Linked DNA regions of Homo sapiens: region 2 is linked to region 1. The links are contacts of gene promoters, found by promoter capture Hi-C in blood cells and fetal thymus (Javierre and others, 2016). All regions are on one chromosome and are shown on one strand. Each heading gives the region's core, a stretch centred on a gene start or on the middle of the fragment in contact. The rest is flanking DNA. Distances are from core to core; before and after follow the strand shown. Region 1 holds the start of ACSM1 (acyl-CoA synthetase medium chain family member 1). Region 2 has its middle 34 kb from the start of LINC02890.

What was found. The method cuts DNA at HindIII sites, captures the fragments that hold promoters and counts their contacts. A CHiCAGO score of 5 or more calls a contact.
Region 2: a fragment that was not itself captured here is called in contact with the fragment with the promoter of ACSM1 in region 1 in 2 of 17 cell types (total CD4 T cells and total CD8 T cells); the score reaches 9.1 in total CD4 T cells.

What each region holds. Positions count from the first base shown.
Region 1 is chr16:20,695,506-20,701,208 of GRCh38, forward strand. It overlaps ACSM1 (acyl-CoA synthetase medium chain family member 1), which reads right to left and starts at 2,175. Exons shown (of 14, transcript NM_001318890.3): 1 at 2,131-2,175. It also overlaps a transcript of ACSM3 not described here and the pseudogene LOC124903661. The HindIII fragment of the contact is 2,330 bases long and covers 1,266-3,595 here.
Region 2 is chr16:22,644,326-22,649,882 of GRCh38, forward strand. No RefSeq gene overlaps it. Among named protein-coding and RNA genes, the nearest start is that of LINC02890, 34 kb to the left of the region's middle. The HindIII fragment of the contact is 251 bases long and covers 4,130-4,380 here.

The DNA of each region.
Region 1 (5,703 bases), core at 925-3,424:
ATAGACACCATAGGACTGGTATATGTCCAGCTTTTTCACTGATTATCTGTCTATCTATCTATCTATCTATTACCTATCTATTATCTATCTATCATCTATTTATCTATCTATTACCTATCTATTATGTATCTATCGTCTATCTATCTACCTATTACCTATTTTCTATCTATCTATCATCTATCTATCTATCTATCTATCTAGATATATAAGAACCTGATCTCCAAGTGTTGAGGACTGAAAATCAGATATCTATATGTCTATGTCTGCGTCTATCTCTATCTCTGTATGTATGTTAAGCTTCATTTCTAAATCTATTTCTGTATCTATATACCAATATTTACATTTATACCTATATCACTATCTGTGTATATCTATACATTAATATTAATGTCTATAACAATAACACATGTACACTGTAGTCATGTGCCACAATATGATGTCATTGTCAGTGATGGATCACATATACAGAGTGGCCCATACAATTATAATGACATATTTCTACTGTACCTTTTCTATGTTTCAATACACAAGTACTTACCATCGTGTCATGACTGCCTACAGTATTTAATACAGCAACAAGCTACATAGGTTTGTAGCCTAGAAGCAATGGGCTATAGCATATCGCCTATATGTGTAGAAGACTATGCTTTGTGGGTTTGTGTAAGTACACTCTATGAGTTCCCATAATAACAAAATCACCTAACAATGCATTTCTCAGACGTATCTTGGTTGTTAAGTGATGCATGTCTCTATCTCTATCACTATCTCTGTCTCTATCTCTATCTCCGTCTCTGTCTCTGTTTCGATATCTATTTCCATCCACATCTGTCTTCAGATTTGACTTCACAAAGCTTAGTTTGTCTATTTCTCACCGTGCTGGACATAGTAAGTGCTCAACAAAAAGTTAGATTCTTCCCTTCTTTGTCATAATTCAGAAAACTGAGTGATGAAAGTCAGAAAGAGAAAAGCCAGTGTGCCCACAAATTATCTGAGTTATAGAAAAATGTATTTTTTCTTTCTCAAGTATTTACTATAGATGTACCATGTACAGTTTTAGATACTATTGGAGATTAATTAAACTGAAAGAGTTCCTACCCTGTTAGAGCATATCATTAAAGCACATCCTATGAAATCATTTTAAAGAACAATTTTCTGAACTGCTTAAAGTGCATTCTGAAAGCAATTTGACATGGTAGCTTTGAGAGGCAGCTGGGCTCCCCACTGTATTCCCAGATACATAGTGCCTTGAACAGCTCCTGCAACTAAGCTTTGACTTCACAGGACTTGGGACTGATAAAGCTATTTAATGAAGCAACATACTTACTGTGTTATAGGGTATCCCAGAGTTACAGAGCCAGGGCTAGATGTTTGTCTCTGTTGTCTAGCAGCTGGGTCTTTGGTGCTGTTCATGTCTCTGAACTTAAGCGCACAGTAGTAATACCTTCTTCCCAGCTCCCCATAAGGATTAGTGTGATAATTTACTTGCTGGCACTGAATGAAGTGCACGGTAAGGACTCAATAAATGTTGAGGTACCTTTTAACTCCCAGCAAATTCTGAAGCCAACCCCCTCCCCATTAGATGTTAACCATTTTTTTTGAAACTGTCACCTGGACTGGAGTGCAGTGGTGTGATCATAGCTCACTGCAGCCTCAATCTCCTGGGCTACAGTCATCCTCCTGCCTCAGCCTTTCAAGTACCTGGGACCACAGGCATGTATTACTATGCTTGGATAATTTTTTTTAGAAGGCATTCACTTTATAGAAAGTGAGCCAACTTCTGCATAGATAGAAAAGATTTCCTTCAAACATTCATCTCTGACTTTGTGCCTGTCTCCCACGGCTCACCACATTCAGAGCTGCCTGACACTAAACCAGTCCCCATTTACATGCCAGCCACTGTGCTAAACATATTACATGTACGTTCCTATTTATTCCTCTCACCCAATATCACCATTGTCATTTTGCCTCTAAAATGAAGTGCCAAGAAGTTAAGTGACTTGCCCAAGGTCACTCAACTTAAAAGTAGCATTGCCAGAACTTAAAATTGGATTACACACACACACACACACACACACACACACACACACACACACACACACAGATAGAAGCTGACCTTCACCTCTGTCTTACCTGGTACTGTTTAGGACGTAGCTGAACTAGGTCCCTGGTAGGTATGGAAAAGGAGGTTGAGCTCTCTTTTGTAGGTTCAGTTCTCTCTGATCAGGTGATCCGCAGGATTGTGCACCCAGCAGAACTTGGCTTCTGGCCACAGCGAAGGGGGACCTTGAACAGAGAACTTGTTAGGAATTGGGTAATTCAGTAGGGGGAGGAGATGCTCAGGTAAAATAGGACAGAAACAATTACAGGCCTCCACGGAGAGATAATCACTTAGAAAACAAACCATGTGGGCCGGGCGCAGTGGCTCGCGCCTGTAATCCCAGCACATTGGGAGGCCGAGGCGGGCGGATCACGAGGTCAGGAGATGGAGACCATCCTGGCTAACACGGTGAAACCCCGTCTCTACTAAAAATACAAAAAATTAGCCGGGTGTGGTGGTGGGCGCCTGTAGTCCCAGCTACTCGGGAGGCTGAGGCAGGAGAATGGCGTGAACACGGGAGGCGGAGCTTGCAGTGAGCCGAGATCATGCCACTGCACTCCAGCCTGGGAGACAGAGACTCTGTCTCAAAAAAAAAAAAAAAAAGAAAAACAAACCACGTATACGAAGTCACCTCCAATTCCGGTGGCATGGCTAGGGGTGTGAATGAACTAGATCCAATGGTGCATTTTCACTAGTTCTCTGTGGCTAACCTGCTCCCCCTTCCCAGCCCTACATCACCATAGTCTCCCTTAAATGACAGCTGAGAGTCAGTGTAGCCTAATGGATAAGAGCCTGGGCTCTGGAGGTCTGGAGGCAGAAAGGTCTGAGTTTGAGCCTTAGGTCTGCCACTTAACCTCCATGTCATCTTTGTGGACCTTCTTGCTCTGGGCCTCACCTCCCTTAATTGGTTTTCGGTTGCTTTTGAGACAGAATCTCATGCTGTCACCCAGGCTGGAATGCAATGGCATGGTCTTGGCTCACTGCAACCTCCGCCTCCCAGGTTTAATTGAGTCTCTTGCCTCAGCCTCCCAAGTAGCTGGGATTATAGGTGCCCGCCACCACACCCAGTTAATTTTTGTATTTTTAATAGAGACAGGGTTTCATCATGTTGGCCAGGGTGGTCTTGAGCTCTTGACCTCAGGTGATCTGCCCGCCTCAGCCTCCTAAAGTGCTGGGATTACAGGCATGAGCCACAGCACCCAACACCTACCTTATTTGTAAAATAGGAATGATAACAACAATACCTACCTCCCAGGGTGTTTTCTTTGCTTCTTCATTTGTTTGTTAGAACTAGATGAAATAATTTATAAAAAGCATGTAGCACACGGTGCTGGGCATAGTCGATGTTGGCTCTTTTTATTCACTTGGGATTCTCAGAGGAACAATTTGGTATCCTGGTAAAATGCAGGGTCTTTGGAATCCCAAAGTCTTGAGCTTAATTAAGTCCAACCTCAGGCACTCACAAGAAAGCTCTTGGGTGAACCATTTTCCTTTCAAAGCTTGGTCTTGACATTTGTAAAATGAAGCAGGATTTGTTAATAAGATTTGTTGCATGGGATCATTGAAAGGATTATGTGACACCAAGCCTGTAAAGCACCTGGACCAGGCATTTAGATGGAGGGTTGATAGTGATATTGCATTGGATAAACCAAGGTAGTCATAGGTAGCGGCTTGTACTATGACTTTTCTACTGGAGCCATTTTTGGGGCATTGTTAGAGAATGAGGGATCTCCAGTATTTTCATTGAAGCTGGGAAGAAATTATTTCTGATCAAAGTCATGGCTAAAGATTTCTGGAGACACCCAGGACATTCCTGACAGGACCGTGTGGCAAGCTAGGATAGTTTGGGTTTTTAATATTTAGCTTTCTGTGGCCAGTCACTGGAGAGGTGAGAAGGCAGGGCTAGTTGACTGGCCATGGTAAGCTAAACCTTAAACACCCAAAGCATCAAAGTACCAAAAAACAAAGAAACGAACAAACAAAACAACTAACCAAAAAACCTCTGTTACTAAAGAGAAGGAGCAGCCACTTTTCGGAAAAGAATGGAGACGGGGGAAAAGCCCTTGACACACTCTCTGCATCTGAGTAGTTCTCCCCTGTGGAACTGCAACATGAAGGCATGGACAAGAAGACAGGCTCTGGCACCAGGCAGCCTGGGCTTGAGTCTAGCTTTTACCAGTTACCAGCTCTGTGACATTGAGCAGATTTCTTATCCCTCTTTTCCTCAATTTTCTCATCTTTAACAAGAGGTATACAGCGGACAAAGGAAAACTCTCCAAACATTCTATGTGTGCTCCTCTTTCATTTCCCAACCTCTCTTAAAGCTAAAGTGAGGCCATTAAACTCTAGTTCTGAACAATAAACTCCATGTGGAAGTGTTACAAGTCACTTCTGGCCTAGGGCATTTATTTAAGAGCAGGTATGAGTTTTCTGTACTCTCTTCCCCTGATTCAATGCTCCTGGAAACCATATATGGAGATAGTGACATCGTAAAATGGCAAAGTCTCTATCAGCCTTGTTCTCTGAGTGACTTCATGTAGCTAAATATCCTACCAACCTCAGCTTTTTGAACTTGCTATCGTCTGCTTATTATAGAAAACCTATGATACATTCATTCATTCAGTGGATATTTAAGGAACATTTAGGCGTGCTTTAAACATGTAAGACAAGGTTGGTGCTCTCAAGAGGTTTACATGCCTATGATAGAAAGGCAAAAGCCAATAAGCAAAAAGTCAATTAAATAAGCAAGAGGATTTCAAATGGTGATACTGCCAAAAAGAAAACAGAACAGGGCAATATGATGGAGAGAGTGTGGGGAGGTGGCTAAGGATGTTCTCCCTTAAGAGGTGACATTTTGAGACCTGAAGGAGGAGAAGCAGCCAGCTAGGGAAAAAGAACTCCAGGCAAAAGCCACAGCAAGTGCAAAGCCTGAGGCTGACATTTTCAAGGCATAGGTGGGGGACTGGGATGGCAGATTACTGAGTGAGAAGTATGATAAAGTGTGAGGTCAGAGACACAAGCAGGAGACATGCCATTAAGGATCTTTATGGACATAATAAGGAGTTTGGATTCTATTCTAAGTGCAATGGGTGGGTGCATGGAAGTCTCGTGAAGATTTTAGGAGGAAAGAGACATGATCCTATTAAGTAACTCATTTTCTTGGTGACTTGATTTTGAAATAAAGTAATACAGGAAAGTAAAACATTCAGAAAAAGAGGTCAGATTTGCATTTAGAAAGCCCACTCTGGCAGTTCTGTGGAGAAGATATTTTAAGGAGGCAAGAATGGATGTGGGGATGCCAGTCGGGAGGCTACTGCAATAGACTAAACAAGTAATGACGGTGGCTCAGACAAGAGTTATGGCACTGGAGATGGAGGTAAGCAGACGGATATGGGATAGATCTTTAAGACAACCTTAGGTGGACTTGTTGATGGTTTTGATAGGGAGTGAATAAAAAGAATCAAGGATGAATCTCAGCCTTTGACTTCTTCAATAATATAAATGGTAGGTCATAATTTATATATAAAAAATGCTGAAAAGATTATATAGCACATACAAAGTCACGGAGGCTACAGAAGGCAGGAATAGGACTTGAATCATGATTT
Region 2 (5,557 bases), core at 3,005-5,504, 2.0 Mb after region 1:
AATTGTGTCAGAAATGTGGGATCTGGTTCATATTTATAGAGACTTCTTGTTCTTTCAATTGTTCAACCTAAAAAGCTTAGAGTTGTCGTTAAATCTTCCATTTTTCTCACTTTCCACAACCTGTCCATTGGATATTCTTGTTGATTCTACCTTATAATCTAGGTAGAGTCAAGCTACTTCATTTTTTTTTTTTTTGGCAAAATTCAGAAGACAATGTAAAATACATGTTATCAAATGCATTACAAATAACATTTCTATATTGATCAGTGATTTTTTTTCCTTTTCAACTTCTATTTTAGGTTCAGAAGGTATGTGTGCTGATATGTTACATGAGTAAATTGCGTGTCACTGGGGTTTGGTGTACAGATTCTTTTGTCACCCAGGTAATGGGCATAGTACCCAACAGGTAGTTTTTTGATCCTCACCCTCCTCCCACCCTCTATCCTCAAGTAGGCCCCAGGGTCTGTTGTTCGTTTCTTTGTGTCCATGTGTATTCAGTGTTTAGCTTCCACTTATAAGTAAGAACAGGCAGTATTTGGTTTTCTGTTCCTGCATTAATTCGCTTAGGATAATGGCCTCCAGTTCCATCCATATTGCTGCAAATGACATGATTTCATTCTTTAGTATGGCTGCATATTATTCCATGGTGTGTATGTACCATATTTTCTTTATCCAGTCCCCCATTGATAGGCATTTTGGTTGATTCAATGTCTTTGCTATTGTGAATAGTGCTGTGATGAACATATGCATGCATATATCTTTATATATTTTTTGAGACAGGGTCTCACTCTGTTGCCCAGGCTGGAGTGCAGTGGTGCAATCAGGGTTCACTGCAGCCTTGACCTCCTGGGCTCAGGTGATCCCCCCACCTCAGTCTTCTGAGTAGCTGGGACTACAGGGGTGTGCTACCATGCCTGGCCAATTTTTGTGCTTTTTTTTTTTTTTTTTTTTTGTAGATACAGGGTTTTGCCATCTTGCCCAGGCTGGTCTCAAACTCCTAGGCTCAAGCAATCCACCTGCCTTGGTCTCCCAAAGTGTCAGGATTACAGGCATGAGCCACCACACCTGGCTGCATGCACTGTGTCTTTATGGTACAATGATTTATATTCTTTTGGGTATATACCCAGTAATGGGATTGCTGGGTCTAATTGTAGCTCTGTTTCAAGTTCTTTGAGAAATCTCCAAACTACTTTCCACAGTGGTTGAACTAATTTACATTCACACCAGCATTGTATACACATTACCTTTTCTCTGCAACCTCACCAGCATCTGTTGTTTTTGACTTTTTAATAGTAGCCGTTCTGACAGGTGTGAGATGGTATCTCATCGTGGTTCTGATTTGCATTTCTCTGATCAGTGATATTAAGCATTATTTTCATATGCTTGTTGTCCACATACATGTCTTCTTTTGAGAAGTGTCTGTCCATGACCTTTGGCTATTTTTTAACGGAGTTGTTTGTTTTTTGCTTGTTAATTTGTTTAAGTCCCTTATAGATTCTGGATATTCCAGAATCTAGCTACTTCTTAACACCTCCATTGCCTTCTTAACGCCTCACTCTTGTCTGAGCCACTGTTGTCTCTCTCCTAGATGCTGCTACAGCCTCCTAGCTGGTCTCCCTGCCTCTCCATCCTTGATCCCTACAGGCTTCTTTCAACATAGTAGCCAGAGGGATCCCGGTAAAAATACAAGTCTGTCTGTGTCTCTTCTGCACTCAAAACACTCCAATGGTTCTGCAACTACCCCAGAGTAAAAACCAAAGTCATTCCAATGACCTAGGAAGCCCCACGTGCTCTGCTCCCTCCCTGATGCCTCTCTCTTCTCACCTCCTGCCAGTCTCTCCCTCATTCAGTTCATTTCAGCCACCTAGTTTATTTACTGTTTCTTGAACACACTGGGTACATTTCTACTTTGGGGACTTTGCACTGGCCATTCCTTCTTCCAATGCTCTTTTCCTAGATATTTGCCTGGCTAATTTCCTCTTCTTCTACAAATCTGTTTTCCAACGTCACCTTCTGTATGACCACTGTGTCTAAATATCAGTAGGCAACCCCTGCATGATTTCCAGTTCCCTGCCCACTGTGCTTTTTCTGTCTTTTCTTAGCACCTCTCCCATTTAACATACCATATGCTTTACTTATCATGTTTATTGCTTATGGTCAATCTCCCTCTTCTAGAATATAGGCTTCCTAAAGACAGGGATCTTTGTTTTCTTCATTGTTCTATCTCCAGTGCCTACAACAATGCCTGGGACATATTAAGCATTCATTAAGTATTTGTTAAAGGGGAAAATGAACCAAAGGGAAGGAATAACCAAAGGGAAGGAATAAGTTTTTTAAAAAAACTTTGTTGGAATAAGTTTTTTAAAAAAACTTTGTTGAAAAAAGTCTTTTCTTCCCATTTAAAAACGTGGTTTTGTTTCCGATTACAATCCAAATACACAAATTTTAAAGAAGAGTGAAATGATTTGCCATCATTGGACCCTCATTCCTTCATGGCAACTGTGGGCAGAGTAGAGAAAAGTTGCCCTCTTTAGATCAGGCAGACCCTCTCCAGTTTGCTGTGGTGCCAACTGAGCTCACTTTCCTCTTAGAATTCTGACACCTGGAGGTATCAGGGTTTGCTTCCTTTGATACACTTTGCTAGGAACTGGAGTGTCTATGCTCCCATTTGCAAGGAAGGAGTTCCGTTCCTGGGAGCTGGATCTTCCCCTCTGCCTGGGCTCTCTATTCATGTTTGCAGTAATTAGACACCAGGTTGATTGACCATGAAAGATAAGTTCTCAATCACTCCTGAACACATAAACATACCATGAGTACATGAAATAAAAATGTTACGTGCTGGGAACATCAATCAGAAGGGTAATGTTTATGTAGCATTGTTAATTGGATTTCTACAATGGGATATTCGGTGGGTTGGGGTTTATCTGATAACACCGTAGTCTGTGACAGCAACTTCTGTGACTCAGTGTGGCTTCAAGGTCAAGGAACTGAGCGTCCTCCTGACCAACAGGCTGAGGAGATTGTTGGGAGTTCTTGTGGGCCAGGCTCTTATCGGTGAGCTGTATGGAGAACACCATCTCTCAGATTTATCCATAATTTTAATGAATGCTCTGTTTGAGATAATGACCCATATCTTGACTTGCACAAAGCCCTGAAAATACTTCTACGAATTGTGTTTTATCTGAAGTACTGCAGCATGCAGCATCCAACATTACCATTGATATCATCTATTGAGAACTCTTTCCCAGGTTCTTTATTAAGGTTTAATTAAATTTTATGTCTTATCAATTAGGATTAATCTATATTTAGTCTGAATTAGAGGGAGCCAATTATAAATAACACCACTTCTCATTTATTCCTGAATACAAAATGAAGGTTTTTAAACTTTCTTTGGAGGAAAAAATAAAAAACCTCACAACCCCCCTGACTCAAATGTGTCCCTTTAAAGAGTTTTATGCCCAGGAGACCACAAATTCTATTATAATAAAGTGAAAAGATGATAATTCCTATAGGAAGGTGTTACAGACAGAAATGGGGGTCCGGAGGGAAAAGAGAGAGAATTTCTGTTATGATGTGGGCAATTGAAACAAAGAGATTTTCAACTTTAAAGTTTTCACTTGGAGCAATGGCACAAAGATAAACTGAATTTTCCAAGGTTATTGTGACATCTCTGTTTCTAGAAGAGGACAGACCAGCTTGTGCCCTGCGGTTGTGTTCAATGCTGTTAATTAAATATTTCCAATTCTGTTACTTCTGGGCACGAATTGGATCATACTCCTCCCCTCTCTTCACCTTGAAGTCAAATGTGGGCATGGGACTCGTTTGGTCAATGAAATGCAAGAAGAAGCAATATCTGTCAGTTCCATTTGGAAGCGCCCATATGGACTAGAGTGCAATTTCTCATGTTTTCTTCCTCCTGCTGCAGTGGTCATGGAAACACAATTCAGACAAAAGCCCCATTAGCCCAAGATGGGTGGCGTCTTCTCTGCCAGCCTGCATTGTTTGTGCAACATGAGCAAGAAGTAAACTTTTGTTGTGTTAAGCCATTGAGATGTTGAGGTTTTTGTTACTTCAGCGTCATGTAGCTTATCCTGCCTTATAGAAGCTCTATAAGCTTTAGTTTCTTCTAAGCTTTGGTACTGACTTCATTGGGTTGTTATATGAGGAAGAATAATGAAGTAATTAACAAAAAGTGTTTCATTTAGTGCTGGCACACAAGTACTCGGTAAATATTAGTGCTTCCTATTATTGTTGTTGTAGTTGGGGATGTCTATGTATTATGGCTAAATGATCCTATTTGGAATATTCTGATGGTATGTTCAAAGTTTATTTAAACTCTTAGTATTTCAATGTCTTGCCTTTCCACCTGATCAGAACAGAAGCTTCACATCGAGCACTTCTATTACCCCCTGCTAAAGAGTTTACAAAGCCTTCTAATGCACAGTTCTATTTACTTTCTTCTTTCCCTTACAACGCTATTGAATAGTCCTGTGGTATATAGTTTAAGAAAAGGCAAAAAGCCTTATGATAAAAGTCTGTTTAGGAAGGTACTGTGTTTTCAAATGAGCCTTTGGAGATCCGGCCTGCATAGGCTTTCTGGCAGACCTGTGAATTCAAGGACCCCCTTTCCAAAATTATCCAGAGTAACTTGTAATTTATAACTTGGGTTTCTGTACATGTTCCGGCCTGGACCTCATTTAAGTGCGTCCAGCCAATATACAGTGGTGTAAGCCATGAGGTTTGTAGAGACTCAAATTCTTGTTGTGACCAATATAACAGGTACACACTGTGAACTCGTCCCATGAGCTTGGTGCATTATTGAGCCAAGAATCCTCTAGAGGTTGCCTCATAGTAGGAAATCAGAGAGCTATCCAGGAACAATGGTGAGACCAGTTCAAATATTACCTGGACCCAGCATTTAGAAAGTCCAGTTCTTATGGATGCAAAGGTCTTGTTCTAGAATCAGGGTGTGGTCCCAATATACGCAAACTCACCACAGTTGGGAGGATTTTGGTTGCAAGTGACAGAAACCCAGCACAAACCCCAAAGGAAAATCATTGGCTCTTGTAACCCAGAAATTTAATGGATAAACCCTTCCAGCTTCAAGTATGGCTGTATGTAGGTGTCCAAATGATGTCATTAGCTCTTTCTCTTCCCCCACTCTAACTCGTTTTCTCTGTATCTACTTTCTTTTTTATCAAACTCTATCTACATGGCAGCAAATATGGCATTGGCACCTGTAGGTTCCCATTGCTTTTATTGCAGTGATCCCAGAAACAAGACTGCCTCTTTTTTTTTTTTTTTTTTTTTTTTTGATAGTTTCAGGAAAAATAGTTGGGAGGGTGCCAGGGCTAGTTTTTCTGTTTCTTTTCTTTTTTAAACTTTTATTTTAAGTTCAGGGGTACAAGTGCAGGTTTGCTACATAGGTAAACTTGTGTCATGGGGGTTTGCTGTAGGTTATTTAATCATCCAGGAATTAAGCCTAGTACCTATTAGTTATGTTTCTGGATCCTCTCCTGCTCCCACCCTCCACTCTCTGAAAGGCCCCAGTGTGTGT